Regions from separate parts of the Homo sapiens genome. Here region 1 is linked to region 2. Evidence: promoter capture Hi-C in human tissues and cell types (Jung and others, 2019). All regions are on one chromosome and are shown on one strand. The core of a region is centred on a gene start or on the middle of the fragment in contact, and the rest is flanking DNA. Distances in the headings are between cores, read along the strand shown.

What was found. Contacts are between HindIII fragments. The study calls those that stand out against the background at their distance.
Region 1: the fragment with the promoter of ZNF771 here is called in contact with the fragment with the promoter of SETD1A in region 2 in 1 of the 25 tissues and cell types used here (aorta).

Annotation. Positions count from the first base shown.
Region 1 is chr16:30,406,135-30,410,846 of GRCh38, reverse strand. ZNF771 (zinc finger protein 771) reads right to left here and starts at 3,241. Exons shown (of 3, transcript NM_001142305.2): 1 at 3,183-3,241; 2 at 2,653-2,802. The coding sequence starts at 2,793. RefSeq lists silencers at 1,182-1,271, 3,106-3,315, 3,338-3,517. The HindIII fragment of the contact is 10,608 bases long and covers 1-4,707 here.
Region 2 is chr16:30,955,489-30,960,662 of GRCh38, reverse strand. It overlaps SETD1A (SET domain containing 1A, histone lysine methyltransferase), which reads right to left and starts at 2,909. Exons shown (of 19, transcript NM_014712.3): 1 at 2,699-2,909; 2 at 1,782-1,946; 3 at 1,477-1,572. The coding sequence starts at 1,931. RefSeq lists silencers at 2,201-2,290, 2,431-2,650 and enhancers at 3,251-3,380, 2,838-3,601. The HindIII fragment of the contact is 8,587 bases long and covers 1-3,826 here.

The DNA.
Region 1 (4,712 bases), core at 1,992-4,491, 550 kb after region 2:
GGTCTCCCTATGTTGCCCAGGGAGGAATCGAACTCCTGGGCTCAAGTGATCCTCCCACCTTGGCTTTCCAAAGTGCTAGGATTACAGGTGTGAGCCACCACGCCTGGCTCTTCCCATGATTTAAGGCTTCTTATGGTGCCACAGAACCTAACACAGTACGTCCTGCCCTAGCTTGCAAGGCCCCTCTGTCCCCCAACTGCCTTTCCAGTCTCATTTCCTCTGAGTCTTTGTTTTTGCTGTTTCCTCCTCCTGGAATGCCCTTCCTCCTCCTCCATGTGCCAAACCCCTGCAAAGCCTTCAAGGCCCAAGTCAAAAATCATCTCCTCTGGGAAGCCTTCCCCACTGCCTTGAGTCGTTTGTCTTCAATCCTCTGTGCCCCCACATTCACTTCCCTGATCAACCCCAGTTCTCATGGTTCAGCCCAGGCCTTTGATAAAAATGAGTTGAGCCAGGCGTGGTGGCTCACGCCTGTAATCCCAACACTTTGGGAGGCCGAGGCGGGCGGATCATGAGGTCAGGAGTTCGAGACCAGCCTGACCAATATGGTGAAACCCCACCTCTACTAAAAATACAAAAATTAGCTGGGCATGGTAGTGCGCACCTATAATCCCAGCTACTCAGGAGACTGAGGCAGGAGAATGGCATGAACCCGGTAGGTGGAGGTGCGGTGAACCAAGATTGCGCCACTGCACTCCAGCCTGGGCGACATAGTGAGACTCCGTCTCAAAAAAAAAAAAAAAAGTTGAAAAATCTCAAGAAGGATGACCTTGCCCAAGGTCCTGAGCTTTGGGGAGAAGAATAAATGTAACAGCAACTATTTCCGTGTTTATTTTGTGCCAGACACAGTTCTAACTCTGTGCATGTGTTGACTCATTCATTCCTCACAACTCCAAGATGTAGGTGCTGTTATAATTTCCCTTTTACAAATGAGGAAACTGAGGCGTGGAGCGGTTAGGAAACTTGGCCAAGGTCACACAGCGGGTAAATGATGGAGCTGGAAGTCCACCCTAAGCTCTGGAGCCTGTGTTTGTAACTTAGAGGCCAAAGGTGGAGATCAGGCAATCGCAGGGCCAGAAGAGGCAGGCAGAGCTGGATAATGGGCGAAGGGGGCCCGCAACAAACACAACCAGATAGTTATTAGACTATCCAGAGGCCTAAGGAGCTAGTCCCCTCCCCCAGCACCCAGCAGGCCCACTAGGGGGCAGCAGAGCATTCTTTCCCTGGGAACTGGCTCCTGGGCAGGAAGAATCAGAGTCCCGGCCCCTGCAAGCTGGGTCCCTGGGGCCAAAGCCCTCTGCTGGTACTCAGGGCTGCTCAGGCTGGGGGCAGACAGAATCCTCTGGGGTTCTGAGAAGCGGAAACGTATCTGGTGGCAGTTAGGGTCTCCAGGGGGTGAAATTTAACTCATATTCTGATCTCAAAACCTTCAAATACCCTCAGAATAAAAGCCAGACTCCCTGTGTGGCCTGCCAACCACCCCCACTCATCCACACTACAGCATGACCGAACCACCCACCCTCACTGCTGCAGTGCACTACTCACTCGTCTGAGCCTCTATAAGGGCCATTTCTGGCTGGATACGGTGGCTCACACCTATAATCCCAGCACTTTGGGAGGCTGAGGTGGGAGGATCACCTGAACTCAGGAGTTTGAGACCAGTCTGGCCAACATGGCAAAACCCCAACTCTACTGAAAATACAAAAAATTAGCCGGGCGTGGTGGTGCATGCCTGTAATCCCAGCTTCTTGGGAGGCTGAGGTAGGAGAACCACTTGAACCCGGGAGGTGGAGGCTGCAGTGAGCCGAGATCACGCCACTGCACTCCAGCCTGGGCAACAGAGCGAAACTCTGTCTCAAAACAAAACAAAAAAAAATTAGCCAGGTGTAGTGGTGCATGCCTGTAGTCCCAGCTACTTGGGAGGCTGAGGTGGGAGGATCACCTGAGCCCAGGGAAGTCAAGGCTGCAGTGAGCTGTACTGCACTACAGCTTGGGTGACTGAATGAGACCCTGTCTCAAACAATAACAACAGTAATAATAAAAGAGCCATTTCCTCTGACTGGGTCCATCACCCCACTTCTGACCCCAGACTCCTACTAGTCTCACATAAGCCATCCTTTTACTTTGAGACCTGTGGCCAGTTACCAAACTGCCCTGGGCCTCAGTCTCCTCATCTGTAAAATGGAATAAATGCTACCGACATCATAGAATCGAGGTGCTTAGAACAGTGCCTGGCACATAGAAAATGCTAGGCAAGGGTTAGCTATTGTTACTGTTGCTGTTGAACTAACCTGACCTTTCCCCAACCTCTAAATCTGAGTTAAGTTCCCACTTCTAGGCTTCATCATCCCCCTGTACCTGCAGCCATCACACGGGATTCTAACTGTGTGGTTACCCTTCAGTCTAACATCAAGCTCCATGGGGGATCCAAGGACGGAGTTTAATCTCCTGCACCCAGCAGGAAGCCTGGGACAGTAGGCGTGACTTTTGTATGATGGAAGCCCAGGCAGTAGGGCAGAAGGATGGGCCAATCCTGAGGTTTTAGATCCGAGATTCTGGGAAAAGTAGGGGCAAGATCCCTGGCTTCTATCTGAGGGAGGCTGGGCCTGGACCAGGTTTGGGGACAGTGTGCCCCAGGGTGTGTGTGACACATACCTCCTTGTTGTCCATGGGGATCTTGAGTTTCACCACCTCATACTTCTCCTCACCCTCATCCTCCTCACCCTTCACCAGCAGCACCATCTCCTCCTGCATCTCTTCCTCCTCCTCTTCCTCTGCCTGCTGTTCGCCAGGCATCTTGGTGTCCTGAGGCGGGGAGCTGGATCAGAAGCTCAGGACCCGCCCCCCCCCACCCCCCCCCCCGCCCACCGTGGCCCTGGCCCAGCAAGGCAGTGCAGCCGTGGCTTCTCCCGCCCTGCCCTGGTCTCCGAATCTGGTCCTCTCCCGTCCACCCCAGCCCGGCCCCACGCTCTGGCACAGCCCCGGGACCAGCTCCGAGGGCTCGCGTTCACCCCACTCATCCCAGCATTCAAGGCCTTGAACAGTTCGAATCTCCAGCCCCCGCAAGTCGCCACCATCCTTGCGCTGAGTCACTCCCCAGGGCCCGGGTCGGCGACCTGGAGCTCTGGGGCACGGGCTGGAGGCGGGATCGGGGCGGAAACCCCGGGGAGGGGGTGCGCACTCACCAGCCGAAGGTTCGGCACTCGCGGTGCCCCAGGCCTGGGCGCCGGGCGGCTGGGCACTCAGCGAGGCCGCGGCTCCGGGGGCGGGGAGGGGGCGGGACCGCAGGGACGGCCGGTCATTGGTCCGAACATATAGCCCCACCCCCTGGGGCGGAGCCCGAAGGACCCAGGCGTCCGGCCCAAACGGCTCGGAGAGGGCGGCGAGCTCAGACTTGGCGTCCTCCGCAGTCCCCCGACTCCCAAGCACCTGGAGCCGCCCCAGCCCGGCGTTCAAGGTCCTTGCCGCCGAGTTCCAACCTAACCTCGCGGCCCGTCTCCTGGGGCCGGCTTGGAGGTCTCCGCTGCGCCCAGTGCCTCTGCTCCGCCCGAAATAGGCCACGTGCGCTCCCGCCCCGGCCTGGGCCTCTCCCTGGCGCCCCGCCTGGAGGGCGGACCCTGTTGCCTCCTCACTTCTTCCATTCCCTCTTTATCTCCTCTGCCGTCTTTTCTCCATCTTTCTCGGCTTCGCCTATTCCGCTGGCCTCTGGGATATCCTTGAATACATCCTAACCAATTCAACATCCACCCAAGCTACCGCTGTCGCGTCATGCGTGGGGTGCTTACCATGCGCCAGCGCTGTTCAGCGTCTTACATACCTGGTCTCATTTGATCCGCATAACGATGGGTCCTGATCCATTTTACAGATGAGCTCACTGAAGTTCAGGGAGGTAAACTGATTTGCCTAAGTTACACGATAAGGATGTCATAGCATCCCTGACAATCAGTAGCCTAGGTGAACAACAGCCCAAAGCTAAATCCAGTCCACAGGGGTACCTTGTTTGGCCCTTAGGGTATTTTTACTTTTAAAAAATCTTTTCGGACGGGCACGGCGGCTCACGCCTGTAATCCCAGCACTTTAGGAGGCCGAGGCGGGCGGATCACGAGGTCAGGAGATAGAGACCATCCTGGCTAACACGGTGAAACCCCGACTCTACTAAACAAAATACAAAAAATTAGCTGGGCGTGGTGGCGGGCACCTGTAGTGCCAGCTACTCGGGAGGCTGAGACAGGAGAATGGCGTGAACCCGGGAGGCGAGCTTGCAGTTAGCCGAGATCGCGCCACTGCGCTCCAGCCTGGGCGACAGAGCGAGACTCCGTCTCAAAAAAAAAAAAAAAAAAAAAAAAAAAAAATCGTTTCAAAGCCGGGCGCGGTGGCTCATGCCTGTAATCCCAGCACTTTGGGAGGCGGAGGCCGGTGGATCACTTGAGGTCAGGATTTCGAGACCAGCCTAACCAACATGGTGAAACCCCGTCTCTACTAAAAATACAAAAATTAGCCAAGCTTGGTGGTGCATGCCTGTAATCCCAGCTACTCGAGAGGCTGAGGCACGAGAATTGCTTGAACTGGGGAGGCAGTGGTTGCAGTGAGCCGAGATCATGCCATTGGTCTCCAGCCTAGGCAACAAGAGCGAAACTCCGTCTCAAGAAAAAAAAAATTAAATTGGGATATTTCATATAAAAATAGATTTTTTTTTAGTGGAATAAACAAATGCC
Region 2 (5,174 bases), core at 1,660-4,159:
ATTTCCTAGCTCAGCCTTTACTAGGTAACTACCATGAACGAGGCACTGGAAATACAGAGATAGAAAGGAAGAGATTCCCATACAGAAAAGCAGCATGACATGCACATACAAACACAACACGACCCAGTGGCAGCTGACGCATACATGGTGTTCTGGAGCCCAGGGAAGGAAACTTTTGTACAGAGTATGATCAGGGAAGAATTCATAAAGATGGTGTCATTCTTACTGAGATTTGGGGATTAACAATTCATCAAATGACAAGGACCCCTGGAACATGGAAATATAAAACAACTTGGTGTTTTTGAAAAACCGCAAAGCGTTATGGTGTGGATGTAACACAGGGGTGTGGTGTCAAGGCGGAGGATAAGGCTTGGCCAGGTCAATAACCATACATGTCAGTGTCCCAAAACATGGACTTGGCAACAAAAGGAAAACAGCAGCGTAGTGAAGCCAAAGAGACAAATGACAGCAAGGCAGAGGAGAAACTGAGGCAAGAACGAAGGCAAGGAGACCAGGTGAAATGAATACCAAGGTCTACATTAAGTGGCAATGAGAATAGAAAGATGAAGAATAAAAAAGAAAAGAGCCAGGAGGATTCGGTGACCAACTGAGAGAGAAAAGGAGAGAATCACAGGCTGCCAGGCTGTACAGCTGAGTCGATGGTACTGCCACATATGAGTAGAGGGAAAATGAAAAAGGTAGGTTAAGGAGGTAGATAATTTGTTTTAAATCCCTTAAATCTGAAACATGTGTGGCCTCCAAATGAAACTGTCCCCCTACCAGGCATACAAGCCTAGAGATGTTGGCTGGAAACAGATACTTGGAAGTCATCAACATTTAGGTAATAGTTGAAGCTGTGGGTGTGAAAGAGATTGTCCAAGTGAAGTGTACAAAGTAAAAAAAAAAAAAAGAAGAAGAAGAATGAAGGGACCCCACAAACAATTTATTTAGAAAGGAAGAATAAAGAATCAGAGAAGGAAATGAAGAACCACCAGTGTTCCAGGCCCAGTTCAAGGCCTGAAGAATATCTTGTCTAGGGTGGAGAATAGGAGTCCTCGAAGGAAACAAGAGGGAAATGACATCGCCAAATGAGAGGCGGGGAATAGTGCTACCCAGGTAGGCAGTGGCCTTGTCACTCCCCTTGACTGTCAAGGAACTGGGAGATCCCACTCTTGTGTGCTATGATGCACTGTCTACGAATATACAGTGATAGGTATAGCAGCTAAAGAGTCTTTACCTCACCCTTCAAGAAGTCGACACCCCAGCCACCAGGGATACACTTAGGACACCTGACCTGCACCTTTCTGGAAGATTAAGTGTACCTCCTATCCAAAACAACTGAGTCTCACAGCCTCAGAGGTTGCTAGATCTGGCTGAGATCCTTTCATTGGAAACCCTTTTATTCAGCTATAGTGCCAAGACGCATCCTCCACACCCTCTTAGGACTACCACACCAGGAGCCCAGCAGACACTTACCTTAAACTTAGGGACTGGGAGGGAAAAGTCTCTGTTTTTGGACCTGACATGGCAACGGGGGTCTTGGAGGTCTTCGACTGGTATATACTTTGAGTCCTAGGAAGGAAAGCAGCAGCAGAAAGAGAGCTCAGGGTGAATCCAGGCTAGGGAGCTCCAAGCAGCCCATCTGGACACACACATGCAGAAGAGCTGGGTCCAACTGCCCACTTTCAAGAAGGCAGGCTACCGTTCTAGGTGCTGAACAGAATCACAGAGGACGGGCGCCTGGAGCTCCCCGGATGGCAACCAAAGACCCGGGCACTCACGTTGACACTGAAGTGGACTCCATCATAGCGGTACACCTTCTGAGAAGGCCTGCGCAGGGCAGGGTCCAAGGCAGGATCCACGATGAGCTTGTAGTTCCGCCACTGGAAGCTCGGGGCCTTCTGCCCATCTCCCCCACCTTCCTGATCCATCTTTGCTCATTTACACTGTTAGGGGAAGAGGGACACGCAAGAAGGATCAGGACTTGGGGCCTGACTCCCCTGCCTTTCCTCATTGGCTAGCCCCGATTCCAGGTTCTCCCATCACTCCAGTTTCCAACCCTCACCCTGACCCGGGGCTCCCCCGGATTCTCCCCCAAGTACCCTCTGTTTCGCCACAACAACCCAGCCTCTTTCCACCTCCCAACTCTACTGTCAGGCCCCCAGGCCCGTCTCGAGCCCCCTTACCTTCCCGCTCTCCCTAGCGCGCGCCCCACTTGGCCTCGGAGCAAGACCCCTCCCCCGCCCCCTGCAGGCCCCGCCCCCTCCCGCCTCCTCACCGGCCAGCGGCCCGGGCCGAGCCCGGCCACGGCTCCCACACACCCGCTCTCCTCCCCGCGCCCCGATCCTCCGGCCGAAAGGTGGCACCTCTTCGGGGCGTTGGAAACACCGCGAGACCGAGCCCGAGACCCGGCTTCGACCCCGAATCCGGGCGGGGGGGTGGGGGGAACGTGCACCGCTGCCCTCTCCTCCCGCCCCGGCGCGTTCTGCACCCCCCCCAGCAGGTCTCCGCGCACGCGCGCCGCGCGGCCCCACTCACCCGCTCCCGGCGAGCGGCTCCCCCTCCCCCCACCTCGCGCGGCACCTCAGCGGCGCGAGGCGGCGGCAGCGGCAGCGCGAGACCCGGCCCCGCAGCGGTGGCGGCGGCGGCGCCCCCCCACCACCACCTCCCCGGCGCGCGCACCAAACACCACTGCCACCTGCGCGAGGCCCAGCGGGCACAGGGTCTGCATTCGCACTTTCGCCACAGGCGCTGCCGGGGGACCCACGGGGCCGAGGGTAGCGGCTTCGCCTCGGCCGGCGCCCTGGGAGGCTCGGAAGTTGCGGCCCAGGGAGCTTGGAGATTGGCCGCATCCCCCGGAGAGTCGGCTTCGCCACGACGATCTAGATGCTGCGGCCCGGGACCTTGACGAATCGGCGGCGACGAAAGCTGCGACTAGTCCCTGAGGAAAAGGGGCGGGGCGGAGGGGAGGAGGCCAGCCAGCGCTGGGGAACCTTCAGTGGCGCGTTCTGCAGACGCAGATTCACCGGGCGGGCGGGGCGAATCGCTGGACAGGATGCGCGCCGCTTTGCTTCTCTTCCCCGTCCCTTCCTTGCACTGCCAAATTCTGAGAGGCTGCAGATTCGCCACTGTTCCCGGCCTCAGCCGTAGCCTCCCCTTCATCCGCCTTGGTGGAGTCAAGAAAATAACGGCCCGTTAGCCAATCCCTGCTGGCAGAGTCGACAACTTTTTTTGGATTTTTCTTACTGGCCCAAGTGAGAGAATAGCCCGCTTCTGTCCCTGGGGAAAATGCCTCCAGCCCAGCGCTCCTCTCAGAGTCCGATGAGAATTTTCAGCCGAGTATCGAGGGACCCGAGGAATTCTGAGGATCCGACCTGGCGAATCTGCGGATTCCGCTGTGGGCGGGGCCGAGTCAAGGGGCGGGGCCAGGGCGTGCAGAGCCTGGGACTAGGGGGCGCCTCCGGGAGGACCCACGAGGACTCACCCGGATGGGAGGGACGGCCGGGAGGTGGAAAAACACAACCGTGAGCGGTGACTCAGGCGGTTTGCCCCGCCTCGCACATAAATGCAGGGTACCTTTCCTTCCCGTTATTGCCCTTGGGTGTCTGGCTGCTTAGGATGCCCATTTGCCAGATGGGGAGAGTGAGGCCTGTAGAAGGTGCCCTACTTTGCCGTACTCAAACCCACCATTAGTGGTTAAATCCAGGGACCGCCTCAAGGTTTTCTGATGAGCCTAGTGGGGCCTAAGTGCCCTTAAATGGGCCTTGTAATAATAAACGAGGTCCTACAGGAACGGGACTGGACTGGTGTGTCCTCCTGGCGTCATGGTCCCACTGCCCGCTTCTTTGGCTATGGCGCCCTATGCTCACGGGATGCCTCCGCACAAGGGCAGCAGCGGCCCAGGCCTACCCCTGGAACTCGGGCTGAGGTTTCTGAAGGCTGGGCACCGTTTTGATCCCGTGTGGGCGCAGGCACTCCCAGGAGGTCCCTTTTCCTGAGCTGAGGATGCCCCAAGCTCCTGATATGTGTACATCAGGCCCTCGCTATATGGCCTTGGGCAAGTCATTGACCTAAGTTTCAGAGTCTTCCTTTAAACTTGGATGTCAATTTGTACACATCCGAACAGTGCAGAAAAGACCCTTAGAGCCTGGTTTATGCAAATTCACCATTTTAAGTAATAGGAAAAGGTGGAAGGGAGACTTATCCAAGGTCTCACACCACAAGATAGAAGAAGATTAGGACTCTACAATTTTGAGGGAAATAAGGCTGAAAAAAATAATTTACGTGGAGGCATAGGTGTTGAGATCAGATTCCTTTCTGTTCCAGTTGAAAGGCACTGGTTCCTTTTCTCAAATCAAAGAGAGATTCCCGTGTGAGGGGTAGATAGTCCAAGTTCAGTTTCATGGACTAGCTGTGTGGTTTTGGGCAAGATCTTCAGCCTTCTTGGGCCTGTTTCCTTATCTCTGAAATGAAAATGATAAAGACTTAACGCTTAAGGTGTTGTGAGAGTTAAATAAGATAACCTATGAAAGTCCCCTAGTATGTGGTAGTTGCTCAAGAAAGAAACTTGAGGCCAGGTGCAGTGGCTAACACTTGTAATCTCAGCACTTTGGGAGGCCAAGGTGGGAGGATCACTTGAGCCCAGGAGTTCAAGACCAGCCTGGACAACATAGTGAGACCCTCCTCTCTACAAAAAAAAAAAAAAATTAATTAGCTGGGTTGGTGGGACGTCCTGTGGTGCCAGCTATTTGGGAGGCTGAGGTGGGAGGCTCATGAGCCTGGGAGGTCAAAGCTGCAGTGAGCCAAGATTGCACAGCTGCACTCCAGCCTGGGCAAAAGAGTGAGACTGTCTCGGCTGGGCGCGATGGCTCACACCTGTAATCCCAGCACTTTGGGAGGCCAAGGCAGGGGGATCACTAGGTCAGGAGATCAAGACCATCCTGGCTAACACGGTGAAACCCCATCTCTACTAAAAATACAAAAACAAAATTAGCCGAGCGTGGTGGTGGGCACCTGTAATCCCAGCTACTTGGGAGGCTGAGGCAGGAGAATGGCGTGAACCCAGGAGGCGGCGCTTGCAGTGAGCCGAGATCATGCCACTGTACTCCAGCCTGGGCGACAGTGCAAGACAGAGCGAGACTCGGTCTCAAAAAAAAAAAAAAAAAAAGAGTGCT